Regions from separate parts of the Homo sapiens genome. Here region 1 is linked to region 2. The links are contacts of gene promoters, found by promoter capture Hi-C in blood cells and fetal thymus (Javierre and others, 2016). All regions are on one chromosome and are shown on one strand. Each heading gives the region's core, a stretch centred on a gene start or on the middle of the fragment in contact. The rest is flanking DNA. Distances are from core to core; before and after follow the strand shown. Region 1 overlaps SMARCE1 (SWI/SNF related BAF chromatin remodeling complex subunit E1). Region 2 holds the start of GAST (gastrin).

The links. Contacts are between HindIII fragments. The CHiCAGO score rates a contact against its expected background, and 5 or more counts as called.
Region 1: a contact is called between a fragment that was not itself captured here and the fragment with the promoter of GAST in region 2, in 1 of 17 cell types (M2 macrophages). The highest score is 5.7, in M2 macrophages.

Annotation. Positions count from the first base shown.
Region 1 is chr17:40,624,190-40,627,664 of GRCh38, reverse strand. SMARCE1 (SWI/SNF related BAF chromatin remodeling complex subunit E1) reads left to right here. Exons shown (of 11, transcript NM_003079.5): 11 at 1-2,703. Among named protein-coding and RNA genes, the nearest start is that of SMARCE1, 22 kb to the left of the region's middle. The HindIII fragment of the contact is 1,649 bases long and covers 426-2,074 here.
Region 2 is chr17:41,710,498-41,713,807 of GRCh38, reverse strand. GAST (gastrin) reads right to left here and starts at 1,477. Exons shown (of 3, transcript NM_000805.5): 1 at 1,421-1,477. The HindIII fragment of the contact is 7,695 bases long and covers 1-3,310 here.

The sequences.
Region 1 (3,475 bases), core at 1-2,500, 1.1 Mb after region 2:
CATCCAGTTTTTTTCTGTAATGCAGTGACAGTGTGGAATGACCACTCAGCCATTATAAATTTGTGTACTCAGGGCCCTTGTCTCACCCAACTATCTCTATAAACTGCTGCAGTAGCTTATTTGTACAAGACACTTGTGAAAATCAGTTTTCTTACATTATAGTCATTGTCACATATGGAAGTTGGTCTTTGATTCCAAAAGTAAAGGGAATATGTTTCTACATTAACAGGAATATGGAGAAATCTGTAACGTTTGAATTATCTTTGAAAGAATGGCTAAATGATAAATGTTAAGTCCTGTGCCTATATGGAGAGGACTCTGTACCAGCATGAGTTAATTTAAGTGGATTCACTGCTATTCAGTTCATAGCACATTAGTGACTAGGAATGTGTGTTCAGCCTCCTGAGAGAGGAGGGGAGGAAGCTTGATACTGGGTGGAAACAACTCTTGACATCTGTTTCCTTGTGTGTCAAAGAACGAATTTGTATCAAATAGATCTGTTTTGAGCTTTGGCCATTATTTGGCTAAGAACTTCAGCCATCTCATCTCAGACAAATTGGACAGCCTCTTTGATACATTTTCTAGTAGTCAAAATGGGGCAGATGTAGTTTAATATGGGTGGAAAACTGCCCCAGCAAGATACCAGGTTATTTACTGTGGTATCGAAAGCTCTAAGAGAATGGAAGTGGTTCTTTTGCCCGGCTGGAAATAGCAGTGGGAAGACAAGTCTATCCAGACCAAGCCTGTCCATACAACACTGGCAATCAGTTGATGAGGGAATTAAGTCAGATGGGAGACGTCTCAATCTGTCGCCCAGGTTGGAGTGCAGTGGTGGCGATCTCAGCTCACTGCAACCTCCACCTCCCAGGTTCAAGCAATTCTCTCTGCCTCAGCCTCTAGAGCAGCTGGGATTACAGGCTCTCGCCACCATGCCCGGTTAATTTTTGTATTTTTTAGTAGAGATGGGGTTTCACCATGTTAGCCAGGCTGATCTTGAACTCGTGACCTCAGGTGATCCGCCTGCCTCAGTCTCCCAAAGTGCTGGGATTACAGGCGTGAGCCACTGTGCCCGGCCTCAGTTGGGATTTGACAGCTCTGAACCTCAGCAGGGGAAGATTGATGTAAAAATCCACTTGGTCAGAGTGATATATGTAGACTTGATGTTTGAGATGGTTCTCAGTTTAGAGAATGTGGGATATGGTAGAGGTCTTTGTTTTTTTCCCATGTCCCAAAAGGTGCTGGGCAAGTAGCTTGAACTCGAGCCTGTTTTAATTATAAAATAGATCAAACTGCTCTTTCTTGGTGCCCTTACTGCTCCTTGATTTTTAGTGCATTTATTTTGAGTATGAATGCATAAAGTCTGAGGGCCTAAATTTTGTTAATTTTTTTTAACAAATGGGAGAGGGGAATCCTCGATAGTCACCCAATTTTCCTTTTTTTTTGAGACAGTCTGACTGTTGCCCAGGCTGGAGTGTAATGGCGCCATCTCGGCTCACTGCAACATCCAGCTCCTGGGTTTCAGCAATTCTCCTGCCTCAGCCTCCTGAGTAGCTGGGATTACAGGCGCCCGCCACCACGCCCGGCTAATTTTTGTATTTTTAGTAGAGACAGGATTTTGCCATGTTTGCCAGCCTGGTCTCGAACTCTTGACCTCCTGATCCACCCTCCTCTGCCTCCCAAAGTGCTGGGATTACAGGCGTGAGCCACCGCGCCCAGCCCCATAGTCCCCCAATTTTCTAACAGTTTTAAATTCTGTAACTTCTCCTGTCTGTAAACAAGGCTGTCTTTTCAAATGGCTCTCCTACAGGATGTGATAATTATCTATTCTATAAAGCCGAGGTTTGGAGAGGTAAATAGCTATTTCACATTAACACAATAATGTCAATGCCCTATGGAAAAGATAAAATACTTGGACTATATTTTAAAGGGGAATCTGGGGTCATGCATATTGAAGTTTAACTAGATCCCTCCAGATTTTTGGTTTTGATCCTACACATTTAGATACTAGTTTTGGATTTTAGACAGTTGGTGCTGACAGTGTGAAACTCCTATTGCCTGCAGTTAAATTGAAGCTTTGGTTTCTCGTGAACAGGCAGTGAAGCTGGTATTATACTTTAAGTCCTCATTTCAGAAATAGTTTCCCTCCACCCCCAAGCACTACCACACATGGTCTCCCCACCTGGTTTCAGCTAGTGCATTAGTTTTATCTTGTTTTTTACCGCTGGGCAAACCTTGCTGGAACAACAACTGACTTCATGATTTGCACATTTGGAGGGCTTAACGTCTTTGCAAATGAAAAATCCACTGTACAATAACAAGCTCAAAGGAACTCGGAGCCTTTTTAGAAGAAATCGTGCTGAATTATAATGTGGCTTACTGCAATAATGTTTCTTTGATCAGGATGGAAAGGAAAATACTGAGTTTAGCAGAAAACGATGTCTAAATGTATTTGTAATGATACAATTGTTTATAAATGTTTTACTATTAGGTTGAACCATAAGAAATTGCCAGTGTACAATTTCATCTACAAAATGACTGGCTTAACCTAAATTCTGCATTTTATACTCCAAGAATAAGCTCTTCGTGGCAGCTTTCTAAGTGTGAAATGATGGAACTTTCTATTTGCCAGAATGACCTACACTTCTCTAATAGTTTATCTCATATTGTTAGCCAAACGCTGATTAAAATGCAAATTTCAAACTATTGAGTTTTTAAGAGCCTGATGTTTAAAATACATTTTGGTGAACTTTTAGTTAAACTAGCTCATTTATGTTCACACATTTTCTCATTTAGCACCAGAAAGTTTCTTACAGCTCTTTTGCATGCATTCAGGAGTCAAAAGTATTATATGGGGAGGGGAAATTCCCAAATGATAAATACTCTTTACATAAAACTGAGACAGTAGCTGCAGATAATGGCTCCCTTTGAGGAGCCACTTGAAAGAAAGGAAAGGCTGCCTTAAACTCCTTGACTTTAAGGGGCAGCAAGGACCCTCGGTCAGCCACCTCCACACCCGTCTAGCACTTGGTCCCAGGTCCCCTAAGGTCGTCATGGTTCTGTTTAAATAAATACTTCTAGTCTTGGGGAGCCCATCATGTCTTAAGATAGCTCATTCCTTCTTTAGTTCACTAAAGGTATTTCCTCTCACTGAACTAAAAATCTGTCTTCCTATAATTTCAGCCTCCCTCTTACACAACTTGAAGTCAATTAGAGTACATGTCATCACCTTCCAAGTAAAAGATCTTCAGGTATTTCAAGACATGTGCTCCTTGAGATCCTTTCAGAAGACAATTTCCGTTTTCTTTTTTAGAATTTTTAATTTTTTTAATGTACAGAAAAATTTGGAACGTAGATAGTTTACATTCTCATTGTCCTGTCGTCTCCCCTCCAATGTGTCTCTCCTGGGATAGAAGGACTGTCTCTTTTCAAACATGGTTTTCTCTAATCTGGTAAAGTCGTGTTTCCTCCCCAGTGT
Region 2 (3,310 bases), core at 228-2,727:
TGGCTTTATCATAAGAAAATGATAAAAATTTTCTCTTGTCAGAATACATTTGTATTAATAAAATACTGTACTGCTTTTAAGTTTTTCTTTTTTTCTTTTCTTTTTGTGAGACAGAATCTTGCTCTGTCTCCCAGGCTGGAATGCAGTGGCTGGCGTGATCCTGACTCGCTGCAGCCTCGACCTCTTGGGCTCAAGAGATCCTCCCACCTCAGCCTCCTGAGTAGTTGGGACTACAAGTGTGCACTACTATGCCCAGCTAATTTTTTTGTTTTTATTTTTAGTAGAGATGAGGTCTCACTATGTTGCCCAGGCTGGTCTGGAACTCCTGAGCTCAAGCAATCTGCTTGCTTCAGCCTCCCAAAGTGTTGTGATCACAGGCATGAGCCACGGTGCCTGGCCATTAAGTTTTTCATAATCAGGTTTTCTGTTAGGTTTTCTTTGGAAGAAAAGAATTCTGCTGCTGAAGAAATGTTTGAAAAATCAGTGATCTGGAGCTGTATTGTCAGATGCTAACCACATGTGTTGTTCAGTGCTATAGCCACCAGCCACATGTGGCTCTTTACATTTAAATTAATTAAATTAAAAAATTATGGTCAGGTGCAGTGGCTCACGCCTGTAATCCCAGCACTTTGGGAGGCTGAGGGGGTTGGATCACTTGAGGTCAGGAGTTTGTGACCAGCCTGGCCAACATGGTGAAACTCTGTCTCTACCAAAAATATGAAAAATTAGCTGGGTGTTGTGGCAGGCGCCTGTAATCCCGGCTACTCGGGAGGCTGAGTCAGGAGAATTGCTTGAACCTGGGAGGCAGAGGTTGCATGTCACTGCACTCCAGCCTGGGTGACACGGCGAGACTCTATATAAAAAAACAAACAACAACAACAACAAAAACTTCCTTACACTAACCCCATTTCAAGCGCACACGTGGCTAGTGGCTACCATATTGAACAGTGCAGATGAAGACCATTTCCTGCATCATAGGACGTTCTTTTGGATGGCACTGGTCTAGGAAAGGGCTTGAAGTGGGATCCAGGAGCTGTGGATTCCTATCCCAGCCTTGCCTAATAATCCCTGTGACTTTGGGCAAGTCACATCTTGCCTCTGGGCCTCAGTTTTCTTGTCTGAGAGAAAGGAGAAGAACCCCAGTCCTCCTCACCTCCCAGGGCTGGGAAGAGTGTGAAGGGATAGGCTAAGGGCAGGGCCCCGGCTGCGGCAGAAGGGCAGGTGGAAGGCAAGGTTGGGAATACCAGGGTAGGTACTGGAGCCAAGACCTAGTTCCATCCTGGGATAAAGAAAGGGTCCCAGCTCTGGAGACCCCAAGGGGTGAGCCCCAGACTCTGGCCAGTGGCCTGGTACCTTGATGGGGGAGAGGACCTGTCAACCCACTTCCTAGCCTCTCCCCTCTCCTCCTGGGTTTTCTCACCTGCAGAGCTGGGAGGTGTGTGGTGCCACGGCTGGGCCTGGTGCCTCTCAGGTCTCTGCTCTGCTTGATGCTCCAGGCCTGCCTTATAAAGCCCTCAAGGTCCCTCCCAACTGTCCCCCCACCCCGCCCCTACCCTGCCATATGAGTCCAGGCGAGAGGAATGGGGTGGGGCACAGGTACAGCCCATCACCCTGCCCCGCCCTTTCATTTAGTGTCAGTCAGTCATCCAGGATGTGGGGGAAGGATAGGGGAGTTGACCTTCATGGTGAGGGGCTGGAGCGGGGTGGCGGCAGCTCTCCAGCTGTACCTGAGGGGCAGGAACCAAGCTCCCTGGGTCAGGAGCAATGCTTCCCACCATATCCTGGGGGTCAGAGGCCTGGCACTTATCTCTCGAACTACATAGGGACCTTTGTGGGTGGTGGTAGGTGAGGGAGTGAACCCGATGGGCTTAGATTCAGGGAAAGTGGATTTCGCCATCCACTGATGTTTGGCAAGCGTGTGAATGTGGGGTGATGTATTGATTCCCCGTCCCCTCCACTGGACTCTGCAAACATAACGTGTTACCAGGAGCAATGGGTTGTGGGCTGATGGCCCTGTTCTCTCCTTCTAGTGGCTCACATCCTGGTCACCTCTGAAGTCCTTTCACCCTCCCCCTACCATGGAACACCCTTGGTGCCTTCTTCTCCTTAGGCCCTCTGTGCTGGGCTGGGTTTGGCTTGTAGCTGCCCCGTGTCTTCTAGGTCAGCTGCCCATGCACCACCACTTGCAAACCCCCTATGCAGAACCAATTCCTGGAGGGTCCTGCCTTTGAAGCCTCCTTCATTTTGCTTTCAAGGGGAGCTAGTAATCTGCATAACAACTTTTTTTTTTTTTTGAGACAAAGTCTAGTTCTGTCACCAGGCTGGAGTGCAGGAGTGCAGTGGTGTGATCTCGGCTCACTGGAACCTCCGCCTCCTGGGTTCAAGCGATTCTTCTGCCTCAACCTCCCTAGTAGCTGGGATTACAGGCGCACGCCCCCACGCCTGGCTAATTTTTTGTATTTTTAGTAGAGATGGGGTTTCATCGTGTTGGGCGGGCTGGTCTCGAACTCCTGACCTCATGATCGGCCCAGCTTAGTCTGCCAAAGTTCTGGGATTACAGACGTGAGCCACCATGCCCAGCCAACAACTTTTCAGTATCAAAATATACCTTCAAATGGTTAGCAAACAGACTAAAGCATTTGCCAAAGATGGACCAGAAAACAAAATGGTACCTTGTTGACTTATTTGATAAACTGCTGCCTCCACATGGTTTGACCAGATGTAATGAGCCGTAGGCTGTTTTTTACTTTTCCACTGTTGAGAGCAGAGATTTTGCTCCTGTTCATGCGTCATTGGGCCCCCACCTTTTCTGGGAGAGTTTGATCCCCTTGGGTATTGGGTAACTGCAGTGGTACCCATGCTTACAGCCAGCCTTGCTGAGAATTAATGGGTGATGAAGGAAGCAGGCTGTGCGGTGTCCATGGCAACTGACGGCTGAATAACCGTTGTGAATAACCACTCTCATCTAGAGCAGGACACGGTGACTCAGCAGATGGAATAAATGAAAACGACAAAAAGCAGTGCAGGCATTGGTGATAATTAATTGAATCACAGAATCTCAGAGATGAAAGGACTTTGAGGGGGCTTGGGAGAACAGGTGGGGTGAGTGTAGCTCTGTTCATACACTAGGGGAATGAATGAAGACATTCGTGTTGCTATGGTAACACTAATGGGAAATGATAAGTTTTCAGTAGAACCCTGGTTGTACCAGAGCCCAAGACTCAGTTTGTGCCCATGGAGGGGGTTATGCCCCCTTGAATGTTCTTCCCCAGGCTGGTTACATGAGGGATGACAATTTCAACAAATAGAA